2 separate regions of the Homo sapiens genome follow, and region 1 is linked to region 2. The links are contacts of gene promoters, found by promoter capture Hi-C in human tissues and cell types (Jung and others, 2019). All regions are on one chromosome and are shown on one strand. Each heading gives the region's core, a stretch centred on a gene start or on the middle of the fragment in contact. The rest is flanking DNA. Distances are from core to core; before and after follow the strand shown.

Region 1 (7,266 bases), core at 868-3,367, 340 kb before region 2:
AATTACAGCCCTTTAGTTAACTATTCATCAAGTGCTCCCTGCACACAGTGGACTTGTGCTGAGTATAGTGAAGGAAGATTCATTGTGCTGGTTGATTTTATGTGTCAACCCAGCTAGGCTATGGTACCCAGTTGTTTGGTCAAACACTAGTCTATATGTTGCTGTGAAGGTATTTTTTAGATGTGATAACACTTAGATAAGTAAAGTTTGAGTTAAGCAGATTGCCCTCCATAATGTGGGTGGGTCTCATCCAATCAATTGAAGATTTTAAGAGAAAAGACTCAAAGCGGGTGGATCACTTGAGGTCAGGAGTTCAAGACCAGCCTGGCCAACATGGCAAAACCCTGTCTATACTAAAAAAAAACAAAAACAAAAATGAGCCGGGTGTGGTGGCACATGTCTGTAGTCCCAGCTACTCAGAAGGGTGAGGCAGGAGAATCACTTGAACCCAGGAGGCAGAGGTTGCAATGAGCCAAGATTGCACCACTGCACTCCAGCCTGGGTGACAAAGCGAGACTGTCTCAAAAAATAAATTAAAAAAAAAAAAAAGAAAAAAGACTGAGGTTCCCTGAGGAAGAAGAAATTCTGCCTTCAGATTTCTTTCAGACTCAAAACTGCAATATCAACCCTTCCATGGGTCTGTGGTATTCTGGGAACAGGGAAAAGAACAGCCCAACTAAAGAATCCCAAAGGTAGAGAAACATGCTGTTATGGAACCTGGAGCTAGGTTGCAGAGAGCCCTGATAAGCATAGAACATAGGCTGCAAAAGCCTTAAAGATTCATCTTTTAAATAAACAGCATTAAGTACTTCTCTTTCTTGGGCAGGCTAGAGTTCCTATCATCTTGCCCAGGCCTCTCATCTTGTAACAAGAAGCTGAGACCCAGGGCGAGTGTCCTTGGGTCACAGGGGAAATCTTTGCAGGAGAATGCAATCTTCTACTGCCTCAGCCAGCACTCTGGCTACCACATTTTCCTGCTTCCTGCGTCTCCAAACTCATCTGCCCGCTCCCGCGTTGCTTACTGCAACTCAACCACACTGGTTCTCTTGCTGCTCCTCAAATGCTCTAAGTTTGTTCCCACTTCAGAACCATTACACTTGTTCCCTCTGCCCAAAAGCCAAAAGGACCTTGCCTTGGGTTTTCACACACTGGAGCTTCTTGTCTCTGATCTCAGCTCAGCTGTTGTCTTCTCAGAAAAGTCTTCCCTGACCACAGGCTTGAATGGTGCCTCATCCACATCTGTCCCATTGCCCTGATTTACTTTACTTTTTTTTTTTTTTGAAATTTTTTTTGAGACAGGGTCCCACTCTGTCGCCCAGGCTGGAGTGCAGTGGCACAATCTCAGCTCACTGCAGCCTCCCTTTCCCGGCTTCCTGGGTTCAAGTGATTTTCATGCCTCAGTCTCCTGAGTAGCTGGGACTATAGGCATGTGCCACCACGCCCGGCTAATTTTTGTGTTTTTAGTAGAAACGGGGTTTTGCCATGTTGGCCAGGCTGGTCTTGAATTCCTGAGCTCAAGCAATCCACCTGCCTCGGACTCCCAAAGTGCTGGGACTACAGGTGTGAGCCCCGCATCCAGGCTACTTTCTCTATTGTACTAATCAATGTCTAGAATTACTATTATTTACCTCTCTATTGTTTGTTTCCCCAAATAGAATATAAATTCCCTGAGAGTAGAATTTGTTCCCTAATGTGATTTGCTCATTGCTTTAACCCCAGCACCTTGAATAATGTACATATTAGGTACTCTATAATTATGAATCGAATTAATGAGTGTTGAATACAGATCTCAGCTCTTGCAAAGTGGTTTAAAGGGGAAAAGAGATCAAGAGAAGCAAAGAGGCATTTTAATGAGGTAAGCGGAGAAGCCGCCAGCAATCACCTCTGGTCCCACAGCAATGCCCTTTCCCTTCTTCCATTTTTTTTTCAAAGCAGATGCCTCTAGATGGAATTGTTAAGGTCACAGTTCTTGCTGGATAAAAATCACAAATCGTGCTGACTTCAGCTCACCATTAAAATTCCCCACAATGCCAGTTTCAAAACAAAGTGCTCTCCGAAAGATGAAACCTTATGTGTTCCTCCCTTAACGTTCCCCTCTTAACCGCGCATCATATGAAGCCTGTCAGCTTCCCTGGACTCACTGTGCTTTATCACTAATCCTTCACTTTTCCCTTTCTGCCTCAAAGGAGGATGCTCCCCGCTTCTCTTACTGAACCAAACATGGATTTGCTTATGCTGTGCAGTAAAGCTAAACATCCACCCTGAGGTTTTGCAGCAAAAGAAAGGAGGATGTTTATTTGCAGGGCCCCAAACAAGGAGAATCTGGCAGTTTACACTTCAGACCTGACCTACTTGATGGCTTACAAGCAAGGCTTTTTGTTGTTGTTGTTTTGTTGTTGTTTGTTTGTTTGTTTGTTTTGAGACAGGGTCTCACTCTGTCATCCACGTTCAGCGTGTGCAGTAGTGTGATCTCAGCTCACTGCAACCTCCACCTCCCAGGCTCAAGCGATTCTCCTGCCTCAGCCTCCAGAGTAGCTGGGATTACAGGCATGCACCACTATCGCCCGACTAATTTTGTATTTTTAGTAGAAATGGAAACCGGTTTCACCATGTTGTTCAGGCTGGTCTTGAACTCCTGGGCTTAAGCGACCCTCCCACCTTGGCCTCCCGAAGTGCTGGGATTACAGGTATGAGCCACCGTGCCCAGCCTCAAGCAAGGTTTTTTCAAAGGCTGAGATAAATTTCAGGAAATCAGAAATCACAAGCAAAATGGTAAATCAATACATGGAGGTTATATATTGGTTTGGCCTAAAAAGGTGGTATATCTCGAATTGGGGCTTTACAGGTCACAGGTGGATTCAAAGACTCTCTGGTTTGCAATTCACTAAGGAAGCAAAGCTTTGTCTAAACATTTGGGGTTGGAAGAAAAGAATGTTAAGATCTAGCATGTGGGCATGACTTTCTCCAGGGCCCTCAGGAAGAAATTTAGAACAAAGAATGATAGAGTTCAGTCCTCAGTTCTCCCGTTTGAGGTCTACATGCCAGCAGACAGTATTTTCCATTTGGTGGGGTGCGGGGGAAGGTAGGGGCGGGTCCAGGTTTCTGAAAAACAACTCAGGGACGAGGTATGTTAAGATGTTATCTTTAGTTTCTCTAGAGAACCAAACATCCTGTGACTCTAACTTTCTTGGCTATTGTTTTAAGCTATTAGATTACTCATTTATTTCTCAAGGCTAGCTAGGTGCCTGGAATTTCCCTTGAAGAAACTCAAGATTTTCCTTTATTCCCATGCTTGGGTTGGGGGTGGGAAGGCAGGATCCTAAAAGGGGTCCCTGCTCTGTCTCACTTCCATTTCAGGATTTTCTTCTTTACTTGTTCTCTGAACCCCTTCCCAACTGATCTTCCTCCTGCCTCAGATCCACATTTCACATTGCCACCCAAGGATCTTCAATAACCACTTATATGAATATTGCTCTCTTACTCGGATACCTTCACTGGCTCCTCAAACTCACATTATTGAGCATGGTACTCAAGGCCCTCCCCAAGGACAAAGACCAGCTTACCCTCTTCACCCTTATTTCTACGTGCCCTAGCATTAAACTGACGTCAAAGCATATAGGATATAACTAACTACCTGCAATTTTAATGCAATGGAGCTGTTGGCTTGTAGCTATGACAGGAAAAGACATTTGACCACAGGGTATGCAGGGTATCTGGTGCAAAGGCATTCTGGCAGAGCAAACCCAACACATCAGTTTTACTGTTTCCCATGACTTGCGAATCCACCCTGGAGAGGATTTGAATCAGTTGACTTCTTCCTCTAAAACCTTCCTAGCTGCATGGCTGTTTGTGTGTGTGTGACTGCATTATTGAGTACACAAGCCTTTTGAATCAGGGATCTCAGATTTTAGAACTGTCAATTATTTCACATCATCCTAAACCTCTCTTCCCTTCCATTAGCGTGGATAATTGGAAGCTGATGAGGGTTAGCATTACACAAGGAGATAAATTCATTCAACAAACATTCAGCAAACACTCATTAAGTACCTAATGTATGCCACCTTGAGATACAGTGTAGAAGAGGACACAACCATGTAAGCATCATTACTTCAGAAGAAGAAATGCTATAATAAAGGTATGTTCAATATTAGGTGTACTGAGGGAACATAGAGACAGTGCTTCTCTAACAATCTAAAGAGGACAGGGAAGGCTTTGGGGAGAAGGTGACAAGACGTGGAGGATGTGAATCTGAGGCAAGGATAGAAGGAGAAGTAAATTTGCCAGACTTCACCCCCATACCATCAGTATAATTTGAGAAATATTTTTAAACATCATGACTGTACAGATTTTTTTAGTGGCATTATTTGGGCCATACTGAGTGATTGCTGCATGCATTTCTACTCCTTTGACCTACTTTTTCATAAGTGTCAACAGAGGCTTGCAAACAACCACTAAAATAGTGTTCACAATGTATCAGGACGGAGTTTTGAATTAGAGGCGTCCATGCTGTGCTGAAGCTGGTGGTCTTGTGAGCAGAAACACTTTGCTAAGGTTGTAAGAGAGAAGCGAAGGAAGCATAGCAGGGCAAGAGGAGGAAAGAGACAGAGCAAGCCTAAAGCTAAAGAGTTGTGAGGGGTGGAGCCCGGGTCATTCAGGGATTTTTTTAAAGTGGGTTGCTCACAATGTTTCTGGAAGAGCGTACAACTTAGCGGACAGAACCCATATGACTTGTAAATTACAAGGCAGTCATTACATAGCCAAGCTACAGGAAGGGCGCCTTCTGTTAGAGTGGCTACGTAACTCTCGATTTCAAAATGCCTATTGGTTCATTTGCAGGACTCGGCAAAAAATAAGCACAAGAGTACATCAAACTTAGCATTTTGGATCAAGCCAATTTTGTTGCCAAAGGACACTTCATGAGATCAGTAGTAGCTGCCTCTATGTTGATCATCTAAAGTCATAGAGGTACCATATTCTCAACTTCTTCCTATGAATTTCAGTTTTTAAATTACTGAGTCAAAAGCAGTAAGCATTTAAATCACTTTTGATAACTAGCCTATATAGTGTTTATCAAAAGAGCTGTATTAATTTACTGTACCACCAACAGGGTACATGTATACCAGATTCACCACGATCTGTCATACATTTAGCAAAAGTAAGTTAGTGAGTTAACAATTTATGATTTAGTATATTTACAACTGTGTCCGGAATTGATGGGTTCTTGGTCTCACAGACTTCAAGAATGAAGCCGTGGACCCTCGCGGTGAGTGTTACAGCTCTTAAGGTGGCGCGTCTGGAGTCTGTCCCTTCTGATGTTCAGATGTGTTCGGAGTTTCTTCCTTCTGGTGGGTTCAGTGGTCTTGCTGGCTCAGAAGTGAAGCTGCAGACCTTTGCGGTGAGTGTTACAGCTCTTAAGGCAGGGTGTCTGGAGTTGTTCGTTCCTCCTGGTGGGTTCGTGGTCTCGCTGGGTTCAGGAGTGAAGCTGCAGATCTTCGCGATGAGTGTTACAGCTCATAAAAGCAACGTGGACCCAAAGAGTGAGCAGTAGCAAGATTTATTGCAAAGGGCAAAAGAACACAGCTTCCACAGTGTGGAAGGGGACCCCAGCGGGTTGCCAATGCTGGCTCGGTCAGCCTGCTTTTATTCTCTTATCTGGCCCCACCCACATCCTGCTGATTGGTAGAGCTGAGTGGCCTGTTTTGTCAGGCTGCTGACTGGTGCTTTTACAATCCCTGAGCTAGATACAAAGGTTCTCCACCTCCCCATCAGATTAGTTAGATACAGAGTTTTGACACACACGTTCTCCAGGGCCCCACCAGAGCAGCTAGATACAGAGTATTGATTGGTGCACTCACAAACCTTGAGCTAAACACAGGGTGCTGATTGGTGTATTTACAATCCCTGAGCTAGATATAAAGACTCTCCACGTCCCCACCAGACTCAGGAGCCCAGCTGGCTTCACCTAGTGGATCCCGCACCGGGGCTGCAGGTGGACTGCCTGCCAGTCCTGCGCCGTGCGCTCGCATTCCTCAGCCCTTGGGTGGTCGATGGGACTGGGCACCGTGGAGCAGGGGTTGGTGCTCGTCGGGGAGGCTGGGGCCGCACAGGAGCCCATGGAGTGGGTGGGAGGCTCAGGCATGGTGGGCTGCAGGTCCCAAGCCCTGCCCCACGGGAAGGCAGCTAAGGCCCGGTAAGAAATCGAGCACAGCGCTGGTGGGCCGGCACTGCTGGGGGACTCAGTACACCCTCCGCAGCCACTGGCCCGGATGCTAAGTCCCGCATTGCCCGGGGCCAGCAAGGCTGGCTGGCTGCTCCGAGTGTGGAGCCCACCAAGCCCACGCCCACCCGGAACTCCAGCTGGCCTGCAAGCGCCGCACGCAGCCCGGGTTCCCGCTCGTGCCTCTCCCTCCACACCTCCCTGCAAGCTGAGGGAGTGGGCTCCAGCCTTGGCCAGCCCAGAAAGGGGCTCCCACAGTGCAGTGGGGGGGCTGAAGGGCTCCTCAAATGCCGCCAAAGTGGGAGCCCAGGCAGGGGAGGTGCCGAGAGCAAGCGAGGGCTCTGAGGACTGCCAGCACGCTGTCACCTCTCAAAACAGTACCTTAACAATGGTTTAACGTGCATTCAACAAACATCCAGGAAACAATTATTAAGCACTTAATGTACTTTGATTACTGGAGTTATCTTTTTAGGCTGGCCCAAAGCCACTAGAAAGGTCCATTTGAATCAGGCATCATTGCTGATTTGATGATTTCTCCCTTTCCTTCATCCGCCATAGGAATCAACATATATATATATGTGTGTGTATGTATACATATGTATATATACAGTCATTGAGTTCTTTTGACTCTCTCTTTCAAAGGTCTCTTACATCTATCTATCCTACTATTTTTATTCCTGCTACCATCAGCATAGTTCATAGTGCAGAAAGCTTAAGTCTGTGCTACTGAAAATGTCTTCACAGGTCTCTCTGCCTTCAGTCTTCCCCATGGTAATAATCACAACTCATTTACTGAGCAACTACTATGAGCCAAGCTGACTGCTGGGTGTTTCATAGACATTACCTCCCACAACAACCCCATGGGGCAGATATTAACTCCACTTTACAGATGAGGAAACTGAGACACAGAAAATTAAGATAATCACTGAATTTACCCAACAGTAAGTGGAAGAGCAGATATTTTAACCTGAGTCTGAGTCCAAAACCTGTGTCCTCAATGAAACATTTCTCGAATCAGTCCTCTAACCCATTCTAAACATTCCTGTACT
Region 2 (7,542 bases), core at 426-2,925:
AAAATTATACTCTACTCTTAACCTGGACATGCAACTTCCATTGACTGCACAAAATGGCATCTTTACAATTCTTAAATTATCATCATAATGGCCCACATCATGCATGAGCCAATGCAATTTAATATGGTTCAGAATAAAGCCAAGATGGATGCCCAATTCCCAATTTTAGGCATGCAACCCTGGAATGTCTTTTGGAAAAAATGAAATAATGCTCTTGGTAGGCTGTTGGGTTCATCTGTTTTAAGCATAATTGCCATCTCTCAGCTTCCTAATACCCTTAAAACCTCTGAGAGTCTTTAATGTACAAAGTTCAACAAAAACACCTTCAAAACAAATTAGTTCTAATTATGTTTAATATTGGTTTGCTGCTTTATTGAATAATCTACATTTGCTTTTAAAAAAAGGAAATTCACTTAACTGCATGTCAGTCACCCAAGTTTTAAGTGTACAAATGAAATGGAAAACATTTATTACACAAATTTAATTACAATTCTAAGAAATAAACATGCAAATTAGATAGAGTTCAATTTGCAGATGCTAATCCTCATCCTTGATCTTGTTCCTTCCTCCCTTGATTTTCAGTCTGTGCGTCTTCTTGATTCCTAGGGAGCCAGGCAGCCAGAGGTCTGGTTTTTCACAGTCGGAGGATCACTGTTTTAAAGAAGTGTTATATTTAGCACATCTGGTATAGTGGCAGTAAACAAACATTATAGTCTTTGTAACACTTTTGTGCAGGTGCCTTCTCCCGATTTTATTAGGTCTATGCCTTCCAAGCCTCTGCCTTCATTACACCTGAAATGACCCATCTCGACTATGGAGGGGTCCCTAGACAGAAGTTATGAATTAATGATTTTAAAAAATAAACTCTGAGGCCACTATAGGAGAAAATTACTATTTGCAAAATATTCTGATTCCAAGGCTTAAATTACATTCTCTTGAGCAAGGACAATCTCTTGTATTACTTTTTATTTCCTGGAGGTTTTCCCTGGAGGCTCCCCACCCAGAAAGGGTTGCCAATTCAAGTTGCAGCAGGACCAAGGTTGCTTTTTTTTTTTTTTTTAATACGTACGCAGCTCAGGAGGGAAACGGGCGGGGGCGGGCGGCGAGGGAGAATAACTGTTTGGTCCTGCAAAGACATCTGTTTCTCATCTCCGTTTGCTGTGGCAAAGGAGAAGAAAGTCTTTTGCAAAGGGTGGGAAAGGCACAGATTTTTTTTTTAATCACACGCACACACAACAACAACAAAACTAAACCAAATTTAAAAAGACAAGATATCTCGGAAGGTTCCAGAGTGAATACATTATTCGGCTGGAGCCAAGCCCCCAGGGCTAGGGCGGGAGCCCGAGAGCGCGTGGGGTCTGGGCTGCGGGCTGGAGCTGGGCCCGCGTGTCCCCGGGCACCGGGAGGGGAGGGGAGGAAAAGGAGGAGGGAGGGCGGGAAGCAGGGAAGGAGGCAGGGGGCGGGCTGGGGTGGGGGTGCGGGAAAGGCGCCCCGTGTGCAGCCTGAGGAGCGGCGGCGGCGGCCTGAGCAGAGGGAGGGAGGGAGAGCGGGCGCGCTTGTCATGTTCCCTCTCTCACCCTGGGGGCATCCTGCAGAACCTCTCCTCGGAAATCCACGGGGAAATGGCAAACAGGATTGACGGGTTTCACACGCTCCTCGCTAGACAGAGCCGCTCATTACCATAACCGTCTGCAGCGACGGCGGCGCAGCGCCCCAGTCGCGGCGGCGGGACCTGCCGGGACCCTTGCCCGCCGCGCACCCGCAGTCACCGCCGAGCGGGCGGCCGGGCCGGGACCCGCGAGTGTGCACCGGCGGCCGGGCTGGCGCCGAGCCCAGAGCGGACCAGCAGCAGCTCAAGCGCTGCGGCCGCCGCCTCCCCGCTGACCCCGCGGTAAGAGCCGGGCTGGGCGCGGGCCGCGGGGGCGGGAGGGCCGGGCAGGGTGGAGGGCGAGGGCCCCCCGGGGCTCCTGCCCTCGCAGACGGGCACCCACGCGGCCTCCCGCGCGCCCTCTTGGCACCAGGGCTGTGCCGAGGTCACCGAGTGGACTCGCAGCGGCCGGAGCGGAGTCGGGGCGGCGTGGGGGCCAAGGCACAGCTGGGCGCGGAGGCGGCGCGGGCTTTTCCCTGGGCTAGCGTGCGCCGCGGCGCCTTCACCAGGGCGGGAACCGCCGCCTCCTCTAGGGCTGCTCGGGCTGCCACCCGCGCGCACCGAGACAACTCCAGGGGCGGGTGGGGTCAGAAGCTCTGGTGAGACCTCATGGTCCTCCGTGGCCGCTTAGTCCCTCATCGTAGGGGAAGGGGTTAAGTAGGAGGGGTGCCCCCAGGTCCGGATGCCGCGGCGCTTGGCAGGTGGGGAGAGAGGGATTGTGGATGTCAGGAGCGCGCGTTTGCAAGAAAAAGGAATTGATGCAGTAGCTGACACCTTCTGTCCCCCGCCACCTCCGCCCCCGCACCCTCCTCCCAGGCAGCAGAGCTGCGCTGCGGGCGGCGGCGGCTCCTCTGTCCTCAGCTCACCTCCTCGGCGGGCTGAGGCTGCTGCCCGCCTGGTCCACGCCTCCGCCTCTCGCTTCCCTTCCTCCCCTCCCGCCTCTTCGGCCCTAGCAACTTTCCGAGTGCCCAGCTGTGGTCGCAGAAGCAGGGAATAGGCGTCCTCGCCGCCAGGTCCCACGGGCGCAGGGCGCTCCCGCAACCGCGGGCTTCCAGCGGGTTTGGCCGGCAAGGGAGGGAGGGAAGGCCGGGCCGACATCTGCTGCGGGCTGGAGCGCGGGGGCCCGGGCCAGCCCCGCCAGAGCCCTGCCAGCCGCTGTGAGTCATTTCCTTGGAATCCTACCTTTGGTGTTTATTTCCCTTAGAAGGAAACTTGGTTTTTTTTTTAAAAAAAAAAAAGGATAAGACATAAAGAATAATAATAGCTCTTATTCTTCAGAAGAGGCACACGGCTGCGGCACCGTAGAAAGACAACTTGCCTTTGTTCCCGGACACTTGGGGTGTTGTTTACTTTCTCCTGCGGCCAGCGGCCGACCGGGCGCTGCTGGCTACCCGGGGAGGGGCTGAGGGCTGCGGCACCGACACCCCGGGGGTGTGTCTGTGCGGGAGCCAGGATGTGGTTGGTGGCTGCCGCCCGCCTTCAAGAGGTCGGCCCTCCAAACCTCGGACCCCACCCCCGCAACCGCCACACACACACACACCTTGGGCACCAGGGCTCGGGCATCGGAGCACCCCTTCGTGCTCTTTAGGCCCAGCACCTGCAGCCCCAACCACAGGACCCAGCTTCAAGCTCTTGGCCTCGCGGGGCTGCAGCTGAGAAATGTACTTCCCAGGGCAGACAGGTGTACTGCAGGAACGGCAGAAAAGCGACATCTGTTTGTTTAGAAGGGTTGAAGAATTTTGTTCCGCCCATCCAGTCCCTTCCACTACCACCACCAGGAGCCGGACAAGCTATTGAGATCATTTTGGGACAATGTGGAGGTCAGGGGCTTGATGCCATTTAAAACTGGCAGCATCGATCGGGGGTGGAAATAGCCCTTTACTTCCCTGCTTTCCAGTGCTGGAATCAGACTGCTAACTGCTATAATGATCTTAATCAAATGCTCTCCAATTTTCAATGACAGATGGAAGAAGAAGTGAGCAAAGAATGACCTGGAGCCCCTTGTTAGATTCAAGGTGCCGCTGAATTCATAGCTACCCTGTTTTGTGTGCCAGCCACTCCTATTAGCATCATAATTGCTTCTAGGAAAGAACAAGCCCAACTCATCTGGAAAAAAACAAATTGTATAGAAATGCCTGGTAACTTTACTACGAACATTTGCTGGAAAAGCTTGGCATTCTAGCCCTCAGTCTTCTGGGGATGCTGGAAGTGTCATTCCACTACATCCACCTGGGTGTCAAAACAGACATTCAGGAGCCTGAGGATGAAGGGTTAGGGCTTTTTTTTTTCTTATCTTTTAAACCCATGCATAGACAAAACACACTCTAACACCCTCCTGTTGAATCCATCACCTCTGATCTTAGAAAATAAATTTTGCCATAATGTATATCCTTTTCTTTATTTAATATTAATAGAACACGAATTTGTGGACTTGAATTGCTGACGTCAGTAGCAGAATTATAAATCTTATCAGACAGAGAATTATGACAGTTTAGATCTCTACATATAATACGAAGAAAGATTCACGTTAAGCATTTGTGCTTAACGCTGCCCTGTCCAATTTTTCGTGAACATTCAACTTGCCTTCTTAATTTGTTAACATCCAGTGTAAGTTTTAAATAGACTAGGAAGACTCAATTGCAAAATCTCCTCCCCGCTCCCAAATAATCCCAACTCATTCATGTTTTATTCAGATTTACATAAATCACTTGCAGAACTCAGCCTCTCTAGTTTAGGGTTTTGTGTGTAACAGTTCTCAATTTAAAAAAGAAAAACTTAGTAAAATTAGATATTGTGAACAAAATAATAGCCAAGATAAATACTGTTATGCCATGTTTCAAGTTCACGTGCATAATAGGATATGCTGGAAATAATGCTAACAAATAGAAACGCTGAAATTCCTCACAACCAAAAAAGGTACTACCAAAAAGTTATTAAAATATAAACAAACTCTGACAAACATAAAACAGCACAGGGCCCATATAATGTCCTGTTAAACAAAAGTAATTGCTGCCAGGAGCCTGCAAATGTTTTTCTTTCTTAAGGGGCATGAGTTTGACAACCTGCTTTTGTTTACATGAAATAAAAGTCTGCATAGGCAAAAGGCTTGCATCTTATTCCCATGATCTAACACAAAAGTGAGTGTAAACTTCAAACTAGAAAATGTTGATTCTCTCAATAAGAAAGGGCTGCTGACTGTTGAAAAGCTGTAATTCATGTGCTCTTGGCAATAGTATTTCCTGATATGATTGTCTCTTAGAATAGGTGAAGAAACTGGACAATTTCATGAGAGTCTTCCAGGGAATAAATCATCATGAAGTTTGATACCCTACTTGGATGAGGAGTTTGAGAAATGATAGACAGAAGGACTTAATTTGTTAAATCAATGTAGGCTAAATTTCTTTGTTGATGACTCAAAGAGAAAAATAAATGACATGTCCCATCGTTTCTTTGTAAAGATTTAATCGAACCTTTCTTTTGCCCACTTGTTTTAAGGTTTACTAATAAGTCCGTACTGATGTCTCTTTGGAGGGCATCTTAAAAGAGAACGGGGAGGTGTTGTAGCAGCCCAAACCAGCTGAGTCCTAATTCTCTCCACTGACCTGTACACCTTCCCTGTCTGTCAAAAGATCTTGCTTCATTATTCAGTGTGGTTGGGACAGAATTTGAGACCTCAGAGAGAAGACTGGGTGAAAGGTAGAGTCATTGCTGCCAAGAGCTGCTCTTTTAGCCAGAAGGACATTGTCACTTTAATGATGCTATTTCGCCTTACCCTGGTGTTTTTCCTCTTTTTCCTTGGAAGTGGACCCTTGTTATAGCATGTAGGTAATAATAGTCTCCCACGAGACAATGGTAGATTCACTCTTTCCCAGAAACATTACAAGCTGTATAATTTGGAAAAGAAAGCAAGAACTGGGCCCTTAGTTTATGTTTGAAAGACAATCAATCTTCAGAAAGCCTGACGTCACTTGTGTGACAGTTCTTGAAACCACAGAATGAGATAGTGGGGGCTTGAGTCTCCTAAAGGGATTGGCAGTTAAGGAGGCACTGAGGTTGCGCTACTGTCACCACTGGTCTATGGCTGCTAGGTCTTTTTACCTTCATATCAGACTCTCCTCTCCCTTGAACTTACTCTTGACCCTACCTCGAGACCTGCAAAGGGCCAAGTGAAGACACAGAGCCCCCATGAAAGCGGCCTCACTGCCTGAGCTATCGAGGGGCCCAGGAAGCCTCACAGAGCAGAGAAGCTCCCATCTCCCTGCAGGCCCAAGGGAGAAGGGCGTGAACTGGAGAGAAGGGCAGTGATGTGTTGCCTCTTGGAAAGTTCCTGCTCTGTGTCTGGGCTTTGCAGTGTAAAGAGTTGTTGGCTGCCTCTGGCCCCAGAGCCTGGCTCCTGTTTAATATTCTGCCTGCTCCGTTGATGTTGTGCTTGGCTCCTGTGGGACTGCAACTCACGGCTTGAAACTGGAGCCAATTTTCTGTCTTCATCTCGCAGTGTTTTGACTGGAGGCAGATCCAGTTCAGGCCGATCAGGGCTGGTGGAAACAACTACCAAGTGTCTCTCTGTCTGCTTTGCTTTGGGAGAAGAAAGTGGAGGGAGCCCCAGCATGTTGTAGAGGAACTGGCCTGCGGAAACGAGAGGAGGAGGGTGCAGGGGGCAGCGGAACAGACTGAACCTCAGAGCATCAGTTGGAATTACGGTGGATATTTCTGCTTCCCCTGCCCTTTTCTTTTGATTGATTAGTGGATTTCATCAAAGGAGACTCCCGGGGGATTGACTAGAAAATTGATTTTGCCTTATTAATAGAAAGGAAGCGCAAGGGTTTTGGCTTCTTAGCAGTACATTTTCTTTGGAAGGTCAGGAGGAAAATGTGTTTAGGAGGCAAAGCAGCTGTCTAGAAGAGGGCTGAAGGGAATCTGAGAACAATAAGAAATGGGGTTTTAAAGATCCGCCCATGAAATGCAGATTGCTGAACACAGAGGCTGAGCTAATAGCAGCTAGAGAGTTTGCTGAGGTTTTCTTTGAAAAAATAATAAAATGTTTCAGGGTAAAGGGGAGGGCCGAGAAGTAAAAGTTTCCCAAAGCAAAGAAATGAAGATGCCAAGGCCGTCCCTTGGCTTGCTCTTGATTAGGGCTGTTTTCTTCATTCTTGTTTTTTTTTTTTTTCTTTTCAGATCTGAGGCTGTCAGAGATGACTCTGGTTCTGTCCATGAATAGATTCTGCGAGCCCATTGTCTCGGAAGGAGCTGCTGAAATTGCTGGGTACCAAACACTATGGGAGGCTGACAGCTACGGAGGCCCAAGCCCCCCAGGGCCAGCACAAGCTCCTTTGCAGGGAGACCGGGGAGCTGGTCCCCCACTGGCAGGTATTGCCCTTGACCTGCGCCCATCCCCCCCACCCCTCGCTGCCCTTTGCAGCCAGCCTGGTGGACAGGAGGTGGTGTCTGGGGTGCCCCTCTGAGCCAGGAGAGCTAAAGCTCCAGGGACTTCCCGGGCTGCCTGTGCGCCTCTCATAAGTGAGTCCAGAGCTCCAGAGAGAGGACCAGAGGTGATATTTAAATTGCATTCAAACCTGTGTCTACCCATGCTGCTTTTTGAATATAAGTCATGTGTCTGTATTTTTAAGAGGGCCAAACCAGATATTGAAACTCTGAGTTTGGGTTTTGGTTTTCTACCCTGTGGAACTGTATGGTTCTCTCACAACTATGAAAGCTCTGGTGGGCTCAACAATGACACCTTTATCCCATGAGATATAAAGGAATCTGCACTTTGGGCCAGCAGCTATGAGCTTCTTTTCTTTGTTAACCCATTTATGCCCAGTGTTCCATTATTGGAACGCTAAGCTTGTGGAAGTTATTTATATCCTACTGCTCAAGGTCATCACCAAGGTCTG

The links. Contacts are between HindIII fragments. The study calls those that stand out against the background at their distance.
Region 1: a contact is called between a fragment that was not itself captured here and the fragment with the promoter of SERTAD4 in region 2, in 1 of the 25 tissues and cell types used here (mesendoderm cells).

Annotation. Positions count from the first base shown.
Region 1 is chr1:209,892,778-209,900,043 of GRCh38, forward strand. No RefSeq gene overlaps it. Among named protein-coding and RNA genes, the nearest start is that of SYT14, 42 kb to the right of the region's middle. RefSeq lists enhancers at 2,618-3,817, 5,715-6,242. The HindIII fragment of the contact is 5,591 bases long and covers 1-4,913 here.
Region 2 is chr1:210,231,121-210,238,662 of GRCh38, forward strand. It overlaps SERTAD4 (SERTA domain containing 4), which reads left to right and starts at 1,676. Exons shown (of 4, transcript NM_019605.5): 1 at 1,676-1,891; 2 at 6,824-7,015. The coding sequence starts at 6,841. It overlaps SERTAD4-AS1 (SERTAD4 antisense RNA 1), which reads right to left and starts at 2,765. Exons shown (of 2, transcript NR_024337.2): 1 at 2,515-2,765; 2 at 336-651. RefSeq lists enhancers at 1,554-2,087, 7,026-7,536. The HindIII fragment of the contact is 6,882 bases long and covers 1-5,654 here.